Regions from separate parts of the Homo sapiens genome. Here regions 1, 2, 3 and 4 are each linked to region 5. The links are contacts of gene promoters, found by promoter capture Hi-C in blood cells and fetal thymus (Javierre and others, 2016). All regions are on one chromosome and are shown on one strand. The core of a region is centred on a gene start or on the middle of the fragment in contact, and the rest is flanking DNA. Distances in the headings are between cores, read along the strand shown.

Region 1 (2,913 bases), core at 29-2,528, 210 kb after region 5:
AGCAAAGCCCCTGCTGTCAGAATGTTATTTTGTGGTCCTGCAAGGGTTCACACTTTGCTCATATAGGGCTGTCTGGTGACCAGAACAGCCCTATGGCCATTTGTGGTCTGCGGGTTCATTTATTTATTGAACAAGTATTTGTTGAGCACTTAATATTAGACAGAGTAATGGGCCCTGGGAATACAGAGAAATGGTCCCTGCCCTTATTAAGCTTATAGTCTAGTGGAGAAGGGAGACAAGTAAGCAACAAGGAACTAAATGTGTAATAACAATTTGAGTTCAAGCTGTGAAGGAAATGAACAGAATACAATGATAGACAATATAGTGTTAAATAGAGTGGACAAGGAAAGTCTCTTTAAGCAGTGACCTGTAGGGTTGGAGCAGGGTGGGTAGGGAACTAGCTGTGTTAAGAAAAGGAGATAGAGATTTTCAGACAAAGGAAAAACAGGTACAAACATCCTGAGGGGTTGAGATCTTGATGTGTTTGAGAATCTGAAAGGAGGCCAGGGTGACTGGAGAGGAAGGAGGGTGGAAGGAGAGAGGAAAGGAACAAGTTTGGAGAATTAGGCCTGACTTCGATCATTTAACTAAGATAAAGAGCTTGGATTTGGTCTGGAGTATGACAGTAAGCCACTGAAAAGTTTAAGTGATAAGGATGAAAGGGATGCCCTGTGAAACAAACTTTAAACTGGGCAGTGATTCTGTGGGGTAGGAAGAGAATTGAGAAAGAAAATCAGAAAACAATTCAACTTCTCTAAACTGTTCCTCTTGAAGACTGTGTATACATTAGAATTACAACTGACTTCGGCCAGGTGCAGTGGCTCCCGCCTGTAATCCCAGCATTTGGGAGGCCAAGGTGGACAGATCACAAGGTCAGGAGATTAAGACCATCCTGGCTAACACGGTGAAACCCTGTTTCTACTAAAAATGCAAAAAATGAGCCAGGTGTGGTGGCAGGCGCCTGTAGTCCCAGCTAATCGAGAGGCTGAGGCAGGAGAATCACTTGAACCCAGGAGACGGAGGTTGCAGTGAGCCGAGATCGCGCCACTGCACTCCAGCCTGGGTGACAGAGTGAGACTCTGTCTCAAAAAAAAAAGAAAAAAAAAAAAAATTACAACTGACTTCAAGAAAAAATTTTAAGCAGGAGCATAAGGTGATCTCAGATACGTTTTTAAAGATCACTGTGGTTGTTATAAAGAATGTGTTGTAGAGGAGCTATTTCAATGGTCACACAAGAAAAGGTGGTGTTTGCATTACTAAAGAGGCAGAGAGAAATGGACAGATTTTATGTATAATTAGGAAGTAGGAATAATAGGATTCAATATTTATTAAATACATACAGTATTTCAGGCGTGTTCTCAGTGCTGAAGATATAGCAGTGACTAAAGCAGGTAGGATCCTTGTCCTGTACACAAAGGCAGCATGGTAGACTGTGGGGTGCTGGAGCTGGCTCATGAGAGCTGATTGTCAAATTTAGAATTTTGAGAGCTGGTTGTTAAAACACAGCTATTATTAAAAATCAAACTATATAAACTTAAATACATTCTATTAAAACCAAAGATAATCAGTACTTAAAAGTAATCACTTCCTAATTATTTTACTACATTTTACTATCCCCTGTGCTCTTGTGATTATTTATATCTATCATATCTGTATGGTAGGAATATTGTATGCAGTGTGTTACTGTACATCCCTTCCCAACTCTACATTTGGTGATGTCTTGTCGGTAGCTTAAAGTTGGCCATGGTAGGAGTATTTATATCACAAAAATCTGCAAATGTTACAAATCAGTGCTTTTTCCCCCTAGAGAGCAGTTGTTAAATATTTGCCAGCGAACCCCTTGATAAGAACACACTATCCTTGTAGGAACACACCCCTAGGAGTCAGGCACCCAGGGTTTAAATCATGGCTCTGCCACTTGCTAGCAATGTGATTTGGCTAAGATACCTAATATTGGCTTCCTCATTCATAAAACGGGACTCATAGTGCTACCTTTGTCTGTTTGTGCTGCTATAACAAAATGCCCATGACTGATGATTTATAATGAACAAAAATGTATTTCTCACAGTTCTGGAGGCTGGGAAGTCCAAGATTAAGGTGCCCAGCAGGTTTGGTGTGTGGTGAGGTCCTGGTCTCTGCTTCTATGATGGCATTTTGAACGCTGCATCCTCTAGAGGAGACAAATGCTGTTCATCACGTGGCAGAAAAGCAGAGGAGAGAGAATCCACTTCTGAAAGCCCTTTTTATAGCAGCATTAATCCATTCATCGGGCAGAGCTCTCATGACCTAAACACCTCTCATGAGGCCGCACCTCCAAACACTGGCACATTGGGAATTAAGCTTCCAACACATCAATTCGGAGGGGACAGAAACATTCAAACCATAGCAAGTGCTATATACATGCTATATATATATATATATAGCACTAAGGCCCATTATAGACTGAGCAAGAGGAGGGGTCAGCTGGGATCAGCAAGCTCTTTGGCTGCCTGGAGCTTTATCCCTAAGCCTCCTACCCCTGAGGAAAGGAGACATTCAGTTCCTGCTCCCTGGAGTATACAGCCACAGACTTCAGGCCCAGCACACCTAGCACTCAGTGGGCCCAGGAGAAATGGCTAAGGTCAGAGAACTCATATCAACAGCAGAGCAGGCTGGACATAGACATAGCCATTCCAAGGGACAGTGGGTCAGTGTCCAGCTTACATCTGGCTCTTGGCAATGCAGGAGGAAGCTCTGTCATTTGCAGACATTTGCAGGTTCGTGTTCAGACCCCTTCTGGGAGAAGTAAAAAAGCTGCTGGTTAGGAGGATAGAGAAGACTACCCAGGAAAAGAGATGGTTGAATTTCTCTGGGCTCGAGTTCCCAGAGAAGCAAGAGATTGAGGTCCCCAAATCCACTCTGGGCAGCAAGGTT
Region 2 (2,716 bases), core at 66-2,565, 180 kb after region 5:
CCAAAGCTCCTGCTGCACCCAGGTGTTGAGCCTAAATCTGAACCTTGTGGAGAGGTCACAAGAAAGATCCCTAACAGCACTTTGGTTTAGTCAGGGCTAGGTGTCATCACCTGTATGCCCTTTGGCCAAGGAAACCAGAATTTTTCAGGATTTTCCCCACCTCTGGAAGGCTGGAGGAAGGGGAAGACCCACTCAGCAGATTCCCATAGTGCAGGGATCCTCACAGGCATGACTTTGCCCTTTGTCATGGATACTGCAGCTCCCAGACAGTCTTCTGGGCTTTGATCAGCCTGCAATCATCTGACTAGAGCTTGATTTTTGGGGCAGGGAAGGTGGTCCTTATATGAGCTGCCACTTAATGGGCCACTGGGGATTTTTCAACATGAAAGGTACCGAGTCTCCAAATGCTGGTTGTAGGGCCTAAAAACAGGGCTCAACTCCAGGTTCTGCCACTTTCTAGCTGAGTGATGAGGGCTAACGTCTGGGGAGCAAGATCCCTATTTTTTCCCATTGTAAAATTGGGCTAATAAAAGATGCTACCTACTGACTATTAAATAATATATGTAAAGTGGCTAGTTCTGTGTCGGCACATAATAACCACTCAGTCCCTGTAAACTGTTACAATTATTTTCCACTTGGGGCTGCTTTTTGCACAAGGCGATGATTCTGAGAATTGTCCAGTGTCTTTGGTGTGAGGAAGGGAGTCGCTGGATGGTCTGAACCAGAATTTCCTCAGGAGGGGGCTCCTGAAGCGCCCAAAGCCTAATCAAATCCCCCACCTTTCTACCCCTTAACTCCTTCTCCCAGAGTTCTGGGTACTGCCCTTCTGCCGCCCAGAGATCGTGCTGAGGTACAGACGGTTTCTACGTCTTCCTGGTCAGCCGATAGACTAGCATATTCCATAGGAGCACTCCAAGGAAGCCGGAAAGGGCGCCTCCAGGAGGCAGGCGGCCCAGACAGGCTCCCAGAGTCCGAAATCCCTGCTGCCCCAGCTGCCTTTTCTTGACGGAGTCTCATCTCAATCCCTGAGACCGACTACACCGCCCTTCCCGGAGCCGGAGGCAGCTGGCGGAGATCCGGGATCCGAGATCCGGGATCCGGCTCGCCGGCCCGCCGGCTCCCTAGCAGCACCAAGGAGGCAGCGTCCGCAGGAGGTGGAGGCGTTGGCGGGGGGGCGTGCGGGTGCGGTAGGGGTGGGCAGGCGGGGTGGGCGGGGCCTCCGCGGCGGCGGGCGGGGCGTGGGTGGGTCTTCCCTACTGGAGTCACCCCCTCCCCCGGCCGGTCCGCAGCCCCGCCCCGGCCCCTCCCTCCGGCCTGTGCGGCTAGTCCGGCGGCGGCGCCGGCGCGGGGACAGGCGGAGGCGCGGGCAGGGCCGGGCGGACGGGCGCTGGCAGCAGTAGCAGCGCCGCGGGCCCTTCAGAGTGGCCGCAGTCCGAGCTTTGCCCTCGCATCCTGTTCCAACGCGGTGAGTGCGACGGGCGGGCCCCAAGGGTGCGTTTGTATTCCTGTCAGCCCGGGTCTGGGTCGGAGCGTCTGTGGGTGGGGGCACAGATGATTTTCAAAAGCTGTGCCTCTCTCTGCCCACGTGAGGCGTGTCCATGTCCGTGAGAGCAGCAGGGGGATTCTTCGGGCTGTGGCTGCTCACGTGAGGTCCCTGTTTTGAGGCGGGGAGGCGCGGGTGGATGGGTGATGGTTCCTTAGGGGAGCGCGGGGTTTGGGAGCTTGTGTGTGTTGGCGGAGGGTGCTGAACGCTGCGGCCGAGGGTGGTGGTGGTGGTGCGTGCTGAGTGGGACTCTGGAATATTGTGGCCCATCTTGTCTGAAGGGCTCTTTTCTCCCTGGTGCAGACACCTCCACCCCTTGCTCCCCCACCCCCACCCTACCCCACCCCCCGCCCCTTCCATCCTCTGGTACCCACAGGCCCACCAGTCAGGATGGAGGACACCCTTTCCTCCCCATGCACTGCTCTGTGGACAGAAAGCCTCATGTGGAGGCTGTTTTTTTGTAGGAAAGGACCCCTCTGGTTCTCCTGTAGCCTGAGCCCTGCCTGGAGGACCCCAGGCCCCTCCCTGGTTCTGACCTCCTCCCTTCTGCAATTGGCTTCAGATCCTGGGCTGCAAACCTGCAGGGACAGATGGTTGCAGGTTGGAGGGGCAGGCTGCACCCCAGGGAGGTCAGTTCGACTGAGGGCAGGCCCTGGGCTTGTTCTTGGTGTGGGGGTTCTCTGATGTGGACAACAGAAACTCAGGACTGGCCCTAGCAGGAAGATCACATCTGGGAGGTCACAGCAGGTGCAGAAAACATCACAGGTCTCCCTTGGCCAGTCTGTCTAGCTCACTGGTGCCCATTCATCCCCTAAGCAGGGGATGATTTGCTGCAGAATTGGAATCAGAGCTGCAGGCCTGACAGTAGCCCTGCCTCCTTGGGCTTGTATGCCTCCAGTGACAGAGCACTTGCTACTTTCTGCTGTGGAAAAGCTTCCTTATATTAAGCAGAGGTCTCTCTTCTTGGGACTTTATTCACTTGTCTTGTTACTGCCATTACTTTTGCATCTCTCTCTGATGAAAGGGAACTGCAGAGATTTAAACAGAGCTCTCCTGTAACCAACATATACTGAGTACTTCCTGTGTGCCAGGTACTGCCACAGCCACTTAGGAGACAATGGCATTCTTGCCGAGAGAACTTGAGCAAAGAGTCCATCGTTGGGATAGTATAGC
Region 3 (2,700 bases), core at 149-2,648, 230 kb after region 5:
AAAAATACAAAAAACTAGCCAGGTGTGGTGGCAGGCATCTGTAATCCCAGCTACTTGGGAGACTGAGGCAGGAGAATCAGTTGAACCTGGGAGGCAGAGTTTGCAGTGAGCCTAGATCGCACCACTGTACTCCAGCCTGGGCGACGGAGCAAGATGATGTGGGGAAAAAAAAAAAAAATTCCAACTTACAGTGATGTAAGCAAAAAGGGAATTTATTGATTTAAAGAGCTAAAAAAATCTATGGGCAGATTTCAACTTCATGGAAAAGGTAAATCTACAGGTTAATTTGATATTGTTAGGCACCTATCTCCATCCCTTGCTTTGCTTTCTTTGAGTTAGCGTCATTCTTAGGAAGGTTCATCCTTCCTTGTGGCACCTTGTCCCTCAGGCTTATGTTCTATCAGCACCTCTTGCCCAATAGTTCCAGGAAAATTCCTGGATCTGATTTTTCACTGGCTCAAATTTTGTCATGTGCCTACCTCTGAATTGATCACTTTAACTTAGATAGGCCAATCCTGGGTTAGGAACGTACCACTGAAGTGGGTTGTGGGACTATGATGATTCCCATCTGAACCACATGGACAAAGAGTGGGGAGAGGATGGGTCTCCAAAGAAAACAGATGTGCTATTACCAATAAAAGGGGGAAGGGTTACTGGGCAGATAATAATGGCAACAACAGATGTTCATGATGGGATAATACTTATCTTGTGAAGGTTTTCTTGTTCCCCATCCAACCCTCCTTCTCTTCCTCAGCTAAAGAGTTTAAAAGTATTGATATTGGCCAGGTGTGGTGGCTCATTCCTGTAATCCCAGCACTTTGGGAGGCCAGATCACTTTGGTGGGCAGATCACGAGTTCAGCAGTTCGAGACCAGCCTGGCCAACATGGTGAAACCCCGTCTCCACTAAAAATACAAAAATTAGCCAGGCATGATGGCAGGTGCCTTTAATCCCAGCTACTCAGGAGGCTGAGGCAGGAGAATCATTTGAACCTGGGAGGCAGAGGTTGCAGTGAGCCAAGACCGCACCACTGCACTCCAGCCTGGGCAACAGAGCAAGACTCCATCTCAAAAAAAAAAAATTGATATCACTAGGTATTAAATACCTCAACCTCTGCACTACTCCCACCTTTTGCCCTACATGCACCCCTCTCCTCACCCCTCTCCCTTCAGTCTGTAAAGGTAAGGTGTCCAATTTTCCTACGTGAGCCTTTGATCCAACCCTCTCTCATCATCTCCAGGATCTCCTGATCTCTCATCTTTTTTCTTTTTTTTCAAATTCATCATATCTACTGATATCTTTTAGTAGTTTACACCCAATGTTCAAGTCTCTACCATCTTTTTATTAAAAAGGCAAAACAGAATATTTTCTTTTACCTGATTCATTTTACCAGAGAATTTCATTTTATTTTTCAATTTCCTTTTTTATTATTAATACTGTTTTTGATTGGAAATCACAATATACGTTTATGGGGTACAATGTGATGTTTTGATATACGTATGCAATGTGGAAAGATTAATTAAGCTAATTAACATATCCCTCACCTCCCCTACCTATAATTTTTTATGGTGAGACATTTGAAATTTATTCTCTTTATTTTGAAATATACAATACATTGCTATTGACTTTAGCCTTTTTGCTATTCAATAGATCTCGAAACTTATTCCTCCTGTCTACCTGGAACACTGTACCCTTTGATCAACAACTCCCCATTCCCTTCCATCCCTGCCCCTCCCATACCCCCATGCCTCTGGCAACCACCATTCTGCTGTCTACTTCTGTGAGCTCAGCTTTATTAGATTCCACATATAAATGAGATCATGTAGCATTTGTCTTTCTGTGTCTAGATTATTTCATTTAACATAGGGTCCTCCAGGTTCATCCATGTTGTCACAAATACAGGATATCTCCACTTTTAAAGGATGAAATACTATTCCATTGTGTCTATAACCACATTTTTTTTATCCATTCATCCATTGATGGACACTTAAGTTGATTCCATGTCTTGGATATTGTAAATAATGCTACAATAAACATGAGCATGTAGCTATCCCTTCAACATACTGATTTCAGTTCCTTTGGATATATACCCACCAGTGGGATTGCTGGATCACATAGTAGCTCTATTTTTAGTTTTTTGGGGCACCTCCATACTGCAAAAACTGAATCTTTTTTTGTTTCAAGGATTCACGTAGGAGAATCTCACATACCTTTGCAGCTACTGTCTATTCTTTCTTCCAAATTTCTCAAAAGGGGGCTCTGCACTTATTTGTTCTACTTCTTCATTTTCCATTTGCTCAATTCATTGCATTGTGGCTTCTGCCTTCATTTTCTGCTAATACAGATCAAATCATGGGGATCCATAACCTCCATGTTGCCAAATTCAAAGGATACGTTTTTTTTTTTTTTTTTTTTGCCTTGACCTTATTGGAAATCTTTTCTGCATTTGATGTTGTTGACCACTTCTTCCCCCTTGAAAGTCTTTCCTCTCTTGGATTTCTTCCATGACATTACTCTCTCCTGATCCTTCTCTTACCCTTCTGCTAATTCTCAGCTTTCTTCTTGACTGTCTTTTTCTGTGCTGGCTCCTAAACACTGGCATTCCAGAGTTCAGTTCTCAGTCCTTTTCTCTTCTCACTCTATACTCTTCTAGGTAGTTGTTGGAATAGTCCTGTTGAACCAGGCTTGGTTGCTCACCCCT
Region 4 (2,740 bases), core at 113-2,612, 160 kb after region 5:
TAGAGCCTGGTAAGTAGTAGACATTTGATATAATTGTTAAGTGTTTAGTTGTTATTAATTTTGACATAACGATGAACAAGACAAAGGATTCAGTGAGGGCATGAATAAAGAGCATGGACAACTCTTTCATAAAAGGGCAAGGAACGGTACCTGAGTCACAATAGTCCTTAAAGTTTAAGGCCTTGAAACAAGAAAAAGGTGGGTGCGGTGGCTCATTCCTGTAATCCCAAAACTTTGGGAGACTGAGGTGGAAGGATCACTTGAGCCCACGAGGTTAAGGCTGCAGTGAGCCGTGTTCATACCACCACACTCCAGCCTGGGCAACAGAGCAAAACCCTGTCTCAAAAAACAAAAACAACAAAAAAACACAATCAAAGCTCTTCAGACAAAGACAGAAAGGAATTCTGTTCAGCAAGCTCTGCTGAACCCTCAACACTGCCTAAAACTCTGTTTCTTTTGTCAGTTCACTCTTCCATTCCGGGCAATCAGTATTTCAAACCTCTTGTACTCTCTCATCTTCCATTTCCTTCTGCTTTATTCTCAGATGATGACTTTACCTTCTATTTGAAAAAAAAATGAGATGCTGTATTATCAATCAGCATTCTCCAGAGAAGCAGAATCAATAAGATATATATATTCATATAAAGACATATATTTTAAGAAATTGGCTAACACATGTGTGGGAGCTGGTAAATCCAAAATCTGTAGGGCAGGCTGGCATGATGGAAACTCATGCAGAAGTTAATGATGCAGTCTTATTTTTTCCTCTTTTTTAAATTTTTATTTTTTTAGAGACAAAACCTCACTCTGTTGCCCAGGCTGGAGTACAGATCATAGCTCACTGCAACCTTGAACTCCTGAACTCAAGCAATCTTTCCATCTTGGCCTCCCAAAGCATTCGGATTACAGGTGTGAACCACTGCACCTGGCCCGATGCTGCAGTCTTGAGGCAGAATTTCTTCTTCTCTGAGAAACCTCAGTTTTACTCTGAAGGCTTTCAACAGACCCACATTATCAAGAGTAATCTCCTTTATTTAAAGTCAACTAAGTGTACATGTTACCCATACCTATAAAAATGCCTTCACAGTAACACCCAAATTAGGGTTTGATTAAATAACTGGGTACTATAGCCTAGCCAAGTTGACACACAAAACTAACCATCACATGCTATTTAAAAGGAATTCTCTCAATCTCCAAATGCTAAATTTTAAAATCATTTAGATCTGCTCTTATCCATTCCTCCCTCCTTACTGTTACCAATTAGAGATGCTCTTTCTCTCTCTAAAGGCAAGTTCTATACCTTTGCCCTGGGACTATTCTTTCTTGCCTCCTTTCACTCAACAAATATTTATTGAGTATCAACTGCATCAGGCACTGTTTTCAGTGTTTGGTTATATCAGTGTACAAAACAGAAACAGTGACAGAAATTCCTGAGTTATGGACCTTACATTCGAGTGGGAGGGACAGATAATAAAGAATAAAATGACACTTTGGGAGGCTGAGGCGGGCGGATCACGAGGTCAGGAGATCGAGACCATCCTGGCTAACACAGTGAAACCCCGTCTCTACTAAAAATACAAAAAACTAGCCGGCAGTGGTAGTGGGCGCCTGTAGTCCCAGCTACTTGGGAGGCTGAGGCAGGAGAATCGCTTGAACCTGGGAGGTGGAGGTTGTAGTGAGCCGAGATCATGCCACTGCACTCCAGTCTGGGCAACAGAGCGAGACTTCATCTCAAAAAAAAAAAAAAAAGAATAAAATGAATAAACTACATAGCATGTGAGAAGTGATACGTGTTATGGAAAAAAACAAAGCAAAGAGAATCAGGAATGTCTAAGGGAGCATGGGTTACCATTTTAAACACGATAATCAGAGTAAGCCTGAATAAAAAGGTGACATCTGACATCTGAGCAAGGACTTGAAGGAAAGGAGGACAGACCTTCTCCCTATCTTTTGTCTGGTTTATTTTATTATTTTGAGACAGGGTCTTGCTCTGTCACCCAGGCTGGAGGGCAGTGAGGTGATCATGGCTCACTGCAGTCTTGATCTCCCGAGATCAAGCAATCCTCACACCTCAGCCTCCCAAGTAGCTGGGACTACAGGCATGTGCCACCACGCCCAGCATATTTTGGTTTTCGTTTTTTTTTTTTTGTAGATATGGGGTCTCACTATGTTCCCCAGGCTGGTCTCGAACTCCTGGGCTCAAGCAATCCTCCCGCCTTGGCCTCCCAAAGCGCTGGGATTATAGGTGTGAGTCACCATGCCAGGCCTGTCTGGTTAATTTTAATTCATCCTTTGGGTCTCAGCTTCAAAATCACTTCCAGTGAAGCTCTCCTTCATCCCTCAAACAGAAAAAGTTTGCACTTCTGTATGTTTCCATTACAAGATGCATTTCTTCTTTATAACATTCATCACAGTTGTGATTACTGGTCCTATATTAACCTTCACGTAACTACGTTAAGTTTCAAGAGAACACGGATTGAACGTTCTCGTTCAGCTCTGTATCTGCAGGGCTTAAGCTAAAATTGGTAAAAGCAGTCACTCAAATATCTGTGGAATATGTGAATATATAGATGAATGTGGGGCATACCCAGAAAAGGAAAAACAGAATCTCTATTACATGTAACTAAGCTAATTCCTAACTAATCAAAAGGGGTCTAGACTCAAGACAAAAAGCTATTAGGAAGCACTCTGTTGAGCCCCTGTGTCTCCGTGCTGGAGCTGCAGGGACTCCTTTTTTAAA
Region 5 (2,888 bases), core at 184-2,683:
TCCTCTAAGTTGCAGACCTACCTACCCAACCAGCACTTCAAAGTCAGCAGCCCCAAGTCACAGTCATCATCTCCTCATACGAACCCCCTGCAGCCTCCTGCTGCTCCTTTTGTGGAGCACAGCCAGCCTCACCACCATCCATCCACCCAGCTGCCCAAGCGCCGTGGATATGATCAAGGACCCCAGTCTCTCCCTCACTCCTCTTCCAAAATCACACTCCCTTCTTCTTCAGCTGAAACTGTGTTCCTTCTCCACAGAAGTTCCTGATTTCTTTGTGCCATTTGTACACATCTCAAGTCCAGAAAACCTGTTTTTCTCACAGTCTACTCGCAGTCCTAAGGAAGAAGGACAGGAGTCAGAACTCTTCCCAGTTCCTTTAAGATTGCTTGCTCTTTGTCTCTGTCTGATTTCCCCTCTCCCCATATTCTCTCCCAAGTTGGTTTTTTGAGCCCCTTCCCACTTCCCTGCCCGGTTTCCTCCTCACTTAATTTTTCTAGGGAGTATATCGTGAGTGGGACCACCATCCCCAAAGCTCTTCTTTCCAATATCTCCCGATCTCTACCCTCAAATTTGGGATAAAGAGAAAGTGGGGGAAAGGGAGCCTGGGGGTGAAGGAGAGAAAAGAGACAGAAATCATGGGATAATGAAAAGTGACTAACAGGGGAGAAGGCCGAGGTTACGATGGAAGAAGGGGAAGAGACAGCGGGTAGTGAAAAGGGCAGGGGTGAGAAAAGGGAATGAGGAGAAGGCGTGAGGAAAAGGGGATGATGAGGTGAGGCGAAAGACACAGGGAGAAGGGGATGGGGAGAAAGGTGGGGAGAAGAGACGGGGAGAAAGGGATAGGAAGAAAAGGATAAAAGGAGAGGTGGGGAAGGAGAATCTGATGTAAAGAGGCTGGAGAGAGATCAAGCAGAAGGGGTAAGGAGAAGAGAAAGGGGAGAAGAGCTGGGGAGAAAATGATGGAGATGGGGCGAGAAGAAGAGGATGGGAGAAAGGCAGAGGGGAATGGAGATGACGGTTGGGAAAAAGAAGGGGCGAGAGGGAGACCAGGGCACTGAGGGAGAAGAGGGGAATAGGGGATGGAAAGAAGATGGAAGAGGAGGAGGTGAGCAGCAGGGAGCGGCGAGAAGGGGAAGAGACGAGAGGGCGTAGAGAACCGAATGGGAGGAGAGGACGGGAGAAGTGACGGGGAGAAGGGAAGGGAACCGGGACGGGGGCGCGGCGCGGCGCTGGGGCCGGATCCGGAGCCGGGGCCTGGGGCCGGGAAGTGGAGGGGCGGAGGGAGGCCGGGCGGGCGCCGGGGGGAAGGGGGGGCGGCGGCGCGGAGCGCGGGTGGGGGCGGGGGCGGGGGCTCCGCGGGCGGAGGGGCGGGGGCTCGGGTTACCGCGCGGAGGGCGGGGGGAGGGGAGGGGAGGGGGCGCGGGGCCGCGGCAGCGGAGCTCGCATCCTCGGCGGGGCGGCTGTGCAGGAGGCGGCGCCCGGGCGTCAGCGGACGGACCGATCGACGGCCAAGGGCGCGCGGACCGACGGCGGCTGCCCGGAGGGGATCGCGGGCCTCGGAGACAGCGACTGCGGACGATGCGCGGCCTCAGGCCCCGCGCGAGCGGGCGCTGCCCGGGGGGCTGACCGCGGCCGGACGGCGCCCCAGCACCGGGCGAGGGAGCCCGCGTCGCGCGGAGGTCAGTGCCCGCGCCCGCCCGGCCCGTCTGGCCGCGCCCGCCCTGCCCGCCGGCCTCCCCTGGGCTGCGGCAGCGGCGGCGGAGCCGGGGGCTTTGTTCTGAGCCGGAGACAATGGGGGAGGGGGGGCCTGGGCCTGCGGGACCCGGGCGGGCGTGAACGTGAGCGTGGGGGCAGGGCCTGGGGGTCTTTGTGTGCGTGTGTCATCGAGTCGGGGAGGGTGGCGGCGGGAGCGTGCGCCGGGGGTGTGGGGTGCGACAGCGTTGTGTTCCAGTGCATCGTCGGAGTGTGTCAGTGCGTGTCACTGGGAGGTTGTGTGTCCCTGGGCGTCTCTCTGGCTGTGTGTGCATGTGCGTGTCACTCTGAGGGTGTGAGGGTCAGAATGACCGTGTGTCATGGTGAGCGAGTCCCTGTGAGGGTGTGTTGCCCGCTCTGTGGGAGCCCATGTGTCAGAATGTGGAGGATGGGTGTGTGACAGAGACCAACTGAGACAGAGACAAAGAAACTGAGTGGGGAGAAGTACAGAGAAGCAGAGGAGAGGCAGGCACAGCCTGAAGTGGATGGAGGGGGGGGTCACCCAGACGTGTTCTGAGTGGGAGATTGGAGCAACTGGGAGTTTGTGTCTGGGATACCCAGCTCAGAATCCCGTGCAGGGGACAGAGCAAGGTCACCGCAGGCGTGGGTCCCACGTGGAGGGGGTGGGGAGAGGGAGGTCTAGAAGCACAATGAACTCAGTGTGGCGGGCTGGGCCCACAGCCACAAGGTCATAGGCCAGAAAAATATTGTCGCTTATGTCAACTTCTCAAATACCCATAGGGACACAGTCATAGCCCTACTCAACCCACAAGAGGACACAGTCCCAGGGAACACACATCCTCAAGAGATACCCTCACAGCCATCATACACTTCCAGGAAGCCCACCCCCAGGAAGCACCCCCAGTCAGAACCAACACACACCTACAGCAGACTCTATCAAGCCAACACACACCTACGGAAAATGCTCTCATGACAACACACACCCACAGGAGAAATGCTGCAACCAACATACTCCCACCGGTTCATTGTCAAGGCCAACACATACCATGGAAGACATTGTTACTGCTAACACTCTCCAGAAACACTGTCACCAGCAACAAACAAGTAGACCAGCACCTCTCAGGAGACATTGTCACTGCAATCCACATCCATCAGAAGCACTGTCACAACTGTCA

The links. Contacts are between HindIII fragments. The CHiCAGO score rates a contact against its expected background, and 5 or more counts as called.
Region 1: a contact is called between a fragment that was not itself captured here and the fragment with the promoter of DCHS1 in region 5, in 5 of 17 cell types (non-activated CD4 T cells, activated CD4 T cells, fetal thymus and 2 more). The highest score is 7.1, in non-activated CD4 T cells.
Region 2: the fragment with the promoter of TRIM3 here is called in contact with the fragment with the promoter of DCHS1 in region 5 in 12 of 17 cell types (non-activated CD4 T cells, fetal thymus, naive CD8 T cells and 9 more); the score reaches 10.6 in non-activated CD4 T cells.
Region 3: a contact is called between a fragment that was not itself captured here and the fragment with the promoter of DCHS1 in region 5, in 2 of 17 cell types (total CD8 T cells and activated CD4 T cells). The highest score is 6.0, in total CD8 T cells.
Region 4: a contact is called between a fragment that was not itself captured here and the fragment with the promoter of DCHS1 in region 5, in 4 of 17 cell types (activated CD4 T cells, total CD8 T cells, naive CD4 T cells and 1 more). The highest score is 8.6, in activated CD4 T cells.

What each region holds. Positions count from the first base shown.
Region 1 is chr11:6,443,767-6,446,679 of GRCh38, reverse strand. No RefSeq gene overlaps it. Among named protein-coding and RNA genes, the nearest start is that of HPX, 4.2 kb to the right of the region's middle. The HindIII fragment of the contact is 2,129 bases long and covers 214-2,342 here.
Region 2 is chr11:6,472,540-6,475,255 of GRCh38, reverse strand. It overlaps TRIM3 (tripartite motif containing 3), which reads left to right and starts at 1,315. Exons shown (of 12, transcript NM_033278.4): 1 at 1,315-1,465. RefSeq lists a silencer at 1,189-1,418 and enhancers at 776-1,714, 1,715-2,654. The HindIII fragment of the contact is 3,557 bases long and covers 1-2,478 here.
Region 3 is chr11:6,423,639-6,426,338 of GRCh38, reverse strand. No RefSeq gene overlaps it. Among named protein-coding and RNA genes, the nearest start is that of APBB1, 5.9 kb to the right of the region's middle. The HindIII fragment of the contact is 6,341 bases long and covers 1-2,700 here.
Region 4 is chr11:6,490,313-6,493,052 of GRCh38, reverse strand. No RefSeq gene overlaps it. Among named protein-coding and RNA genes, the nearest start is that of DNHD1, 5.6 kb to the left of the region's middle. The HindIII fragment of the contact is 4,880 bases long and covers 1-2,740 here.
Region 5 is chr11:6,654,354-6,657,241 of GRCh38, reverse strand. It overlaps DCHS1 (dachsous cadherin-related 1), which reads left to right and starts at 1,433. Exons shown (of 21, transcript NM_003737.4): 1 at 1,433-1,679. The HindIII fragment of the contact is 4,247 bases long and covers 1-2,888 here.